2 separate regions of the Homo sapiens genome follow, and region 2 is linked to region 1. Evidence: promoter capture Hi-C in 16 types of primary human blood cells and fetal thymus (Javierre and others, 2016). All regions are on one chromosome and are shown on one strand. Each heading gives the region's core, a stretch centred on a gene start or on the middle of the fragment in contact. The rest is flanking DNA. Distances are from core to core; before and after follow the strand shown. Region 1 holds the start of PRC1-AS1 (PRC1 antisense RNA 1). Region 2 overlaps CHD2 (chromodomain helicase DNA binding protein 2).

What was found. Contacts are between HindIII fragments. The CHiCAGO score rates a contact against its expected background, and 5 or more counts as called.
Region 2: a contact is called between a fragment that was not itself captured here and the fragment with the promoter of PRC1-AS1 in region 1, in 1 of 17 cell types (erythroblasts). The highest score is 7.3, in erythroblasts.

What each region holds. Positions count from the first base shown.
Region 1 is chr15:90,965,012-90,971,086 of GRCh38, reverse strand. It overlaps PRC1-AS1 (PRC1 antisense RNA 1), which reads right to left and starts at 4,718. Exons shown (of 4, transcript NR_051984.1): 1 at 4,409-4,718. PRC1 (protein regulator of cytokinesis 1) reads left to right here. Exons shown (of 15, transcript NM_003981.4): 12 at 573-683; 13 at 1,464-1,640; 14 at 1,967-2,008; 15 at 3,885-5,047. The coding sequence ends at 3,956. The HindIII fragment of the contact is 668 bases long and covers 4,263-4,930 here.
Region 2 is chr15:92,997,334-93,001,840 of GRCh38, reverse strand. It overlaps CHD2 (chromodomain helicase DNA binding protein 2), which reads right to left. Exons shown (of 39, transcript NM_001271.4): 30 at 4,438-4,507; 31 at 3,220-3,342; 32 at 1,201-1,329. Among named protein-coding and RNA genes, the nearest start is that of RGMA, 90 kb to the left of the region's middle. The HindIII fragment of the contact is 3,926 bases long and covers 1-3,705 here.

The DNA.
Region 1 (6,075 bases), core at 3,469-5,968:
TAGTTTTCATTTTGAAACATTTTACATAGAATCCCGCAGTACATATTCTTTTTTGTCTGGCTTCTTTCATTTAGTGTAGATTCATCTCTGTTGCTGTATGTATCAAAAGGTCACTCCTTTTTATTGTAGATCAATATTCATTCCACTGTATGAATTTACCACAGTTTGCTTGTCCACTTACCTGCTGATGGGTATTTGGCTGTTGCCAGCTTTTGGCTGCTGCAGGGAGCTGTTGTGAACATTTACGTCTAAGTCTTTGTATGGATCTATGCTTTCATTTCGTTTGGGTAGAAACATCTAAGAGTGGAATGGCTGGGTCATATGCTAGATGTCTTGTGCCACAGTGGTTGTACCATTGTACACTTCCATTTGCTGGATAGCAATAGGCTTTGAAAATTTTTCACAAGTTACTTCAAATCTATGCAGTATTAGACACAGCAGGCCCTTCACCATGTAAACCCGTCTTCCCTAGACTGCCTCCTCCCATAGTCATTTCTCTGTAGGGTAGACAGGTTGCTAGAAATGCTGAGGATGTTACTGCACATCAGTTACCCACGTGCTCTTCTCCCTAGCTGAACACTACCACCATGTCCAATGCTACGGCCAATAGTAGCATTCGGCCTATCTTTGGAGGGACAGTCTACCACTCCCCCGTGTCTCGACTTCCTCCTTCTGGCAGCAAGGTTAGTATGCCCTGTGTCTAAGCACATCCTCACATGCGTCCCTAGCCTGTTCACCCAGAGGCCCCACCTACTTGTTCTAGATTCTAAGATCCCTGGATTTGGTTCTTATTGAGATGCTGAGAGTTGACAGATATAAGCTAGCTCACCATTAAATAATGGTCCAAAACTAACGTGCAAAAAAAGAGAACAGTCACTCTGAGCCCCACTGGTACCATGGGAAGCACTGGGATGTGTCTGGGAAACTGAAGATCAGGCAGGGTCGCTGTAGACTCAATTCCAAGCCCAGTCCTCAGCTGGTATGGAGATAGGTCCCCTACATGTGGGTTCTAGCCCAGTGAAACCAGATCACTAGACATGCCAGGTACTCAGTAGAGATGTGGAAAGTATGTGGCAAAACACATTCAGTCTTTCAAATATTTTATTAGACTATGCTCAAGATAGGTGTTCTGTAAATCAAGAATTCATATTTAAAAAAAATTTTTTTCTAGAGACAGTGTTTTGCTATGTTGCCCAGGCTGGTCTCGAACATGTCGCCTCAAGCAATCCTCCTGCCTTGGCCTCCCAAAGTGTTGGGATTATAGGCATGAGCCACACCCAGCCCCATATATATATATATATATATATATATATATATATATATGTTTTTTTTTTAACTAAAAAGTATAGGATTATAGACATGAATATAAAGATAGTCTCAGCCTTTGACCAGTGCAGGTATTGTGTGTGCGTGTGCACGTTCATTAGAAGGATGATACATGGATCTCTTTCCTTTCTCTGCAGCCAGTCGCTGCTTCCACCTGTTCAGGGAAGAAAACACCCCGTACTGGCAGGCATGGAGCCAACAAGGAGAACCTGGAGCTCAACGGCAGCATCCTGAGTGGTGGGTACCCTGGCTCGGCCCCCCTCCAGCGCAACTTCAGCATTAATTCTGTTGCCAGCACCTATTCTGAGTTTGCGGTAATTCACCTTTTCTAATATCTACCAGTCTCTGGGGAGCACACAGTTGGGGCAGAGTGGGTATCTTCCCAGGGGCACCCAGGCTATTAGCTAGGGCAGCTACCTTGGAGGCTGAGAATCCCTTTCCTGCTTTGACCATGGCAGGGTGGGTGTGATTTAAGGGGGGGTTGTGTAGGAAGGAAGTTGGCAGCAGCAACTAGACATTTAACCTGGATCCTTCTGCTTAATACATACCATTCCCTGGCTGCAGGAGGCAACCCCTCTATCACTGTCCTGGTGCTCTCTTGGTGGAGTTCTTGGTAATTGTCTTAATTCTTTGTTCTTAGAAGGATCCGTCCCTCTCTGACAGTTCCACTGTTGGGCTTCAGGTCTGTATGGCAATCCCTGCATGTCCCTTTTCCAAACTGATCTGTCATCTGCTGGCTTCATTCATCTGGGCACAGGGCTACACTAACTAATAATCTCAGCAGTGTTACAAAGGAAGCAGGAATTCCTATCATGGACTCAAAAAAACACATCTGATTTACATTCACAACAGATTAATTAATAAAATTTGTTCAGACTTGAATTGGATTCTCAGCCCCTAAAGTCAGGCACAGTTTTAAATCACGTTTAACAGAAAACCTTGACCCTCCCCAATTGTGACATCAAAGGCCTGCAATAGCTGGAAAGAATAGAGGCCCCCAATCACATGGGGAAGGGAGCCCCAGCTGTGTGCTGCCTACAATGAGGCTCTTGGCCTGTGTGCTGATTATTTCCTGGAGTATATGCCTTCCTAACCCCTCAGGGCTTAACCGCCAGCTCTATTCTCAGCTAGCTAATGCTGATTTCCTCACCTTTGCCTCTTTCCATACATTGAGCTACTGAAGCATAGATGAAGCACTGGAAGCAAGTTTTTCCAGAATGCTCTTCACTTCCTAGTATCCTACTCTATATTTGCTAACACCTAACTACACTGCCTTTTACTTAATCTGTGATTTCTTCTCTCAATATTTTACTAGCAAGAGGAGAGGATGTTCCTCACCCTTGAGGGGATATTGAGTTAAACCCCTAGCCTGCCTCCCCTCTTAATTGCTGCAGGGATAGAGAATGGAACAGTTGGCCAAGGCTGCAGCTAGTTTTGATCACTGAAACTGGCTTCCTACTCCAGCATGTTTTTCAAATTACGTGGCTGGTGGTGCTTCTACCTTTAAAAGTGGGTGTGTGTCACTCTGGCTGATTGCTGGACAGAGGTCCAGCTTTCTCTTTTTCGCTTGTTCAACCAAGGCCCATTTTATCTGAGGCTTAAATGTACCTGCCTATCTGTGTGGCTAGTCCTAGGTAGGTTCGTCTGGTTTGGGTTGCTATGGCTGATAGACTCCACCAGGCAGCACCAAAGCCGGTAAACTAACCTCTGCTAATATCTGTCTTTCTCAATAGCCATTCATGCTTTATCTTTTGCTGCTCTACCATGTGCTCCAGCATGAGATCAAATCACCAGCAGGTTACAAGGCCTCAGCCCCAGGGATTGGTAGATATATGTTCTGGCCCATTGTTTTATAAAGGGCTCAAGAGACCAAAGCTTGTTGCCTACTTACCTTGACAACTCTAAAGTAGCTCTGTGAAGTAGAGTCATGCCTCGCTTAATGACAGGGATATGTTCTGAGAATGTGGGGCAATTTCATTGTGCACATATCAGAGTGTACTTAACAGTCCTAGACAGAACAGCCTACACACCTAAACTATATGGTATGGCGTTTTCCTCCTAGGCTACAAACCTGGGCAGCATGTTACAGAAAGAATACTGTAGGCAATTGTGGGTTTTTTTGATTCAGGCTATTCCTGGGATACTGTAGGCAATTGTAACGCAATGGTAAGTATTTGTGTATCTAAACATAGAAAAGGTACAGTAAAAATATGGTATAATCTTATGGGACCACCATAGTGTATGTGGCCTGTCGTTAACTGAAACATCATTATGCAGTGCATGACTGTATGAAGGATTTCTCTTCTGTGAGGTGTAACAGAATGGACTGGCTGAGGAAAAAGGGGTCACGGGCATGCGTGCACATGCACTCTGTCTGTGACTAATAGAATGGTGCTCAGAGTTCCTCACCTTTTACTCCTAACGCAGCCTATTGCAGGCTAGGGATCTCAGAGAAACTACCTTCAAGGGACCTTTTGCTGACACTTAACCAAACTTAGAAGGGTGGGCCATGTGTAAGAGAGGCAGTATGGCCACTGATGTTATTTATTTTTCAACAGCGAGAACTTTCAAAGGCTTCCAAATCTGATGCTACTTCTGGAATCCTCAATTCAACCAACATCCAGTCCTGAGAAGCCCTGATCAGTCAACCAGCTGTGGCTTCCTGTGCCTAGACTGGACCTAATTATATGGGGGTGACTTTAGTTTTTCTTCAGCTTAGGCGTGCTTGAAACCTTGGCCAGGTTCCATGACCATGGGCCTAACTTAAAGATGTGAATGAGTGTTACAGTTGAAAGCCCATCATAGGTTTAGTGGTCCTAGGAGACTTGGTTTTGACTTATATACATGAAAAGTTTATGGCAAGAAGTGCAAATTTTAGCATATGGGGCCTGACTTCTCTACCACATAATTCTACTTGCTGAAGCATGATCAAAGCTTGTTTTATTTCACCACTGTAGGAAAATGATTGACTATGCCCATCCCTGGGGGTAATTTTGGCATGTATACCTGTAACTAGTAATTAACATCTTTTTTGTTTAGGCATGTTCAATTAATGCTGTAGCTATCATAGCTTTGCTCTTACCTGAAGCCTTGTCCCCACCACACAGGACAGCCTTCCTCCTGAAGAGAATGTCTTTGTGTGTCCGAAGTTGAGATGGCCTGCCCTACTGCCAAAGAGGTGACAGGAAGGCTGGGAGCAGCTTTGTTAAATTGTGTTCAGTTCTGTTACACAGTGCATTGCCCTTTGTTGGGGGTATGCATGTATGAACACACATGCTTGTCGGAACGCTTTCTCGGCGTTTGTCCCTTGGCTCTCATCTCCCCCATTCCTGTGCCTACTTTGCCTGAGTTCTTCTACCCCCGCAGTTGCCAGCCACATTGGGAGTCTGTTTGTTCCAATGGGTTGAGCTGTCTTTGTCGTGGAGATCTGGAACTTTGCACATGTCACTACTGGGGAGGTGTTCCTGCTCTAGCTTCCACGATGAGGCGCCCTCTTTACCTATCCTCTCAATCACTACTCTTCTTGAAGCACTATTATTTATTCTTCCGCTGTCTGCCTGCAGCAGTACTACTGTCAACATAGTGTAAATGGTTCTCAAAAGCTTACCAGTGTGGACTTGGTGTTAGCCACGCTGTTTACTCATACAGTACGTGTCCTGTTTTTAAAATATACAATTATTCTTAAAAATAAATTAAAATCTGTATACTTACATTTCAAAAAGATATAGTGTGGTGTTTCCTTTTTTTCCCCAGTCACTTTTTAGTTGGTTGGTCTGTGTGTGAAAAACAAACACAAAAAACTAAAAGGACCTCCTGGAAATTTTTAGTCAGGAGTGTGATTTTTTTTTTTGAGTCTCACTCTGTCGCCCAGGCTGGAGTACAGTGGCACTATCTTGGTTCAGTGCAACTTCCACCTCCCAGGTTCAAGCGATTCTCCTGCCTCAGCCTCCCGATTTGCTGGGATTACAGGCACGCACCATCACACCTGGCTAATTTTTGTATTTTTAGTAGAGACAGGCTTTCACCATGTTGGCCAGGCTGGTCTTGAACTCCTGACCTCAGATGATCTGCCTGCCTCCCAAAGTGCTGGGATGACAGGCATGAGCCACAGCACCCGGCCGAGTGTGATTTTTAAAATATTCTCTGGTACATTTCTAAATTAAGAATATCTCTTACTCTAATTTTTTGGTGAGAAATATAAAACCTAACCCCTGATGTGTAGAGAGCAAAGGGAGTCCTAGGATGCTTCTGGCTTCAATGCCGTTTGTCTCAATATGGGGAGGCTGCCCAACTTCAACAGCGTTACTGAAGGAGGATGGACATAAACTGCACACATGTGAAGCGTAAGAGAAAAACCATCGCCACAGTCCAGTTAACCAAGTCTCTCTACCCCAGCAGTTCTTCCCACCCCTTTCTCACTCCTCCTTCCCAGCCTCACCCTGCCGAGCAACCACTGATTTTTTTTTTTTTTTTTTTTTTTTTTTTTGAGATGGAGTCTCGCTCTTGCCAGGCTGGAGTGCAGTGGCACAATCTCAGCTCACTGCAATCTCTGCCTCCCAGGTTCAAGGGATTCTCCTGCCTCAGCCTCCCGCGTAGCTGGGACTGCAGGCACGTGCCATCACGCCTGGTAAATTTTTGTATTTTTGGTACAGACAGACAGGGTTTCACTGTATTAGCTAGGATGGTCTCGATCTCCTGACCTCATGATCCGCCCACCTCGGCCTCCCAAAGTGCTAGGACTACAGGCAT
Region 2 (4,507 bases), core at 493-2,992, 2.0 Mb before region 1:
AGTATTTAAATGTACGTATGTATTGGCCAGGCACAGTGGCTCATGCTCATAATTCCAGCACTTTGGGAGGCTGAGGCAGACCTGTCACCTGAGGTCAGGAGTTTGACACCAGCCTGGCCAACATGGTGAAACCCTGTCTCTTCTAAAAATACAAAAACTAGCCAGGTGTGGTGGCAGGTGCCTGTAATCCTAGCTATTTGGGAGGCTGCGGCAGGAGAATCACTTGAACCCAGGAGGTGGAAGCTGCTGTGAGCCCAGATCGCGCCACTGCACTCTACCCTGGGTGACAAAGCAAGACTCCATCTCAAAAAGCAACTCATAATAAATAAATAAATATCTGTATGTATGACTCAAATCCATGCTAGTTCCTGTACACACTGCTGATCCTCTTGGAGCTAATATCCAAGTACAATTACACTCTCAGAAATTCCATAAAGTTGTCACTGAAATAGCACACTAAATGATACCAACTTACTATTCACTTTACTTAGACCAGAGGTTACAAACTGGCAAGCCAAACCTGACCCACAGGAGTTTTGTTAACAGAACTCCATAGCAGCTGCCCCCTTTACATTAGGCATGAGCTCTCTGGTTAACCACAGTCCTGACCACTCCCCGTCATTTGCAAGAATGAGGCTACGTGTCAATCGCCATTTATCATTAAAACTTTAGGACGGGCGCGGTGACTCACGCCTGTAATCCCAGCACTTTGGGAGGCCGAGGCAGGAAGATCACCTGAGGTCAGGAGTTTTGAGACCAGCCTGGCCAACATGGTGAAACCCCATCTCTACTTACAATACAAAAATGAGCCTGGCGTGGTGGCAGGTGCCTGTAATCCCAGCTACTTGGGAGGTTGAAGCAGGAGAATTGCTTGAACCTGGGAGGCAGAGATTGCAGCGAGCCAGGATTGTGCCATTGCACTCCAGCCTCGCGGACAAGAGCGAGACTTCATCTCAAAAACAAACAAACAAACAACAACAACAAAAATGTCATAGTCCCCTTCATTTACTTCCATTATGTACAAATTTGCAGTTGCTGACTTAAACTATCCTCGCTGACAGATTAAGCGAAGACTTACATATTCTATTTCCATTTAATCCACTCGTAAACCAAACACATTTCAGATGATTTTATTCCAGCTGGCATGATAAGTATAGCTAAAATAAATAAATAACCCTCAACCGAAACCCCACTTCATACTTTCACTTCTCCCTCTTCTGATGGATTATCTGAATGCCTAGGAGATGAAAGCTCAATTCCATGCTCCTCTTTCAGCCTGGGCACTTTGTTTTCCTTCTTTACCCGAGGCTTCCGCTTCTTTAATTTGGCCTGGAAAAGGAGAGAAAATGATGATTAAAATACAAATCAAGACACTCAAAAGCATAACCAAACAACATGATGACTCTTTAAAGCAGTAGCAGCCATATAATTCAAACAAGAAAATTCCAAAGAAATCAAAAGAGTGCAACTCATTTTACCTCACAAGACCAAACCAAAACAAATAAAAACCTATAGGCCTTATACATGGCCTATACCACATTAAAATGTCCATATTCCTTTTTCGTTTTTTTTTCCGAGATGGAGTCTTGCACTGTCACCCAGGCTGGAGTGTAGAGGTGCCATCTTGCCTCACTGCAACCTCTGCCTCCCGGGTTCAAGCGATTCTCCTGCCTCAGCCTCTCGAGTAGCTAAGTGGGACTACAAGCACATGCCACCACCACTGGCTAATTTTTTGTGTGTCTTTAGTAGAAACAGGGTTTCGCCATGTTGGTCAGGCTGGTCTCGAACTCCTGACTTCAGGTGATCCACCCACCTCAGCCTCCCAAAGTGCTGGGATTACAGGTGTGAGCCACCTTGCCAGCCAAAATATCCATATTCCTTAAACCTACTGATTCCACATCTTTGGAATCCATCCTAAAGACACAATTTTTTTTAAAAAAGGAAAATCACTCTGTATACAAAAGTACAAATAAAGATAATATATTAAAGACATAATAGTAACATTAAAAAACCTGAAAGCAAGTTACATATAATAAGGAAAAGGTTAAAATACTGTTTATCTGCCTAATCAGATATGATCTGTAACATGATCTAACCTCTGCCTTTCCAGAGCCTAACACATAATATATTGCATACTCAACATATTATATGAAGAATGAGACTTATGACCCTATTACTTGAAAAAAATGAGGTGTGGTATTATGGGTTTTTTTCCTCAAATTTGCTTTGCTTATAATAATACAGGGAAATCAATATAAATGACATAGCTGCAAGAGCACTTAAAGAACATGCACACATGGGCTGCTAGTACAGGGTGTAACTTGTATTTCTTAGCTGGGATTCCATCTTTCTGGGCCTGAACTGAAATTATAAATTGGGGAAACAAAAGGAGATAAAGCTCAGCTGAGTTCACTGAGAATTTAGTTGGTATTTCACACAGCAAGTAAGGTCTAGTTTCTGAATTAACTGTGCATTACAACTGTCCATTTTATCTCTGGGATCCACTATTACAAGAACCACAGAGACAGACAGAACAACAGGCAAACCCACAGGTATTCAATGCAGTAACTGCAACTATGTTCCAAAATTGAGAAAGTAGGATAAAGAAACAGTAACAGTATGTGTGGAATAGTGGGACTGGGGAGCAGAGGATGAATTTGAAGCAACATTTCAGAAGGATGGGTTTGTAAGAAAGCTGCCAAGATGCCGTGGTCTTAAATGAATTTTTTTTTTTTTTTTTTTTTTTTTTTTTTTTTTGAGACGGAGTCTCGCTCTGTTGCCCAGGCCGGAGTGCAGTGGCCCGAACTCGGCTCACTGCAAGCTCCGCCTCCCGGGTTCACACCATTCTCCTGCCTCAGCCTCCTAAGTAGCTGGGATTACAGGCGTGTGCCACCACGCCCGGCTAATTTTTTTGTATTTTTAGTAGAGACGGGGTTTCACCATATTAGCCAGGATGGTCTCAATCTCCTGACCTTGTGATCCGCCCGCCTCAGCCTCCCAAAGTGCTGGGATTACAGGCATGAGCCACTGCGCCAGGCCTAAATGAACATTTCTATTATTACCAAGCAAAGCATCATTACTGGAACCTCAAAAACAAAATATGCCCATGAGAAGGTGACATTCTGTGCAGTGCTCAGAGAGGGCCTCTCTCTTCCTACCTAATTCTGCAGGGTAGGAGCCTCAGGCCCCTGAAAAACAACCAGCTGGCAGCGTACTCACCTCTTCCCCACCTGTCACAGCCCCCTTCTTCTCCAGACCCTTTCTGAGCAGCTTCAACAAGTAATCCGCTCGGGTCTGTAGCTGCTTCCCCTGAGGCTTTTTATCTGTCTCCACCGGCAGAATCTTCAACAAGAAAGGAAGAGAAGCACCCGCCACCACCCACATCCTGGTTAGTGGATCAGGATAAACAGAGACAACAAAAACTGAGCACAGTCCTTTCCCTCCCCAACCACCCAAAATATAGATAAAGCCTCAGATCCTATCTCATGTCCATGGCTCCCAGTCACTGAAAATCCCTCACGAGCCGTTCTCATTTTACAAAATGGGATGGAGAAATCCAGCTCTCCCAATGGCTCCTACCTGTGCTGTTAACAGGGTAGAACAACTCAGGTAGGAGGGGCTTGTGGCTTCATCTGCTAGAGCATCCCAGCCGTCGTGGATTTCCTCCTTCCAGGAGCAGGGAATCCCTGGAGCTAGGTTAAAGCTTCGTTTTAGATTGAAAATGCTTCTTAGAGCATTGCCGGAGAGCACTGAGCTACGCCAGGACATGATCTGTTCCTTGCTACAACAACTGGGTCTCTTGCCAGACTGAATCTGGTCTCAGTGCTTAAGGCAGGGTGCTGTCACCCTCCTAAAACCAGATGGGATGAGCACTGTTGAACTGCCAGGAGCACAACATGGAGCAAATCCTACCAAAATTTGAGCCAGTCAGCCTTCCCTGCTTATAGCTCCAACCATGGCCTTGCTACTTGCAACAGATAGGGTGGGAGGCTCGATTTTGTGGGAGAAGAACAGCCAATGTTTAATTCCATTACAAAGAATACCAAGGTGACATTCAATCTTTACGTGAGGAAGTGAAATATGGTTGTTTCAAATGTACTTTTAAACAAAGGGCCAATAACTAAGGCCAAGGAATGCTTTTATCATTAACAAACTCACCTGGGTATTTATTGTAATGAAATCTGACCTATAATTAAATACCAGAATTTTAAGATTTCTCCTACAGTTTCCCCAAAATTTCACCTGGCTACTGTCTTTTCCCTTTATCTTCATCCGTGAAACAGTGCCACAATCTGCTAAAGATGGAAGTATTTCCAAGAATGACTATACTAATTTCTAATTTGATGCCCCCTCGAAAATAGTTAGAAATAAGTAATCGATATAAAAATATTACACAACAAATCTTCTAGAAATCTCTAGCATGGTAGGGTTACTTACTTTGTCAGTTAATTTAAGCTCTGGGTCTGTTTTAATTAACTCCCAGTTTCCATAGCCATGTTCATAAATC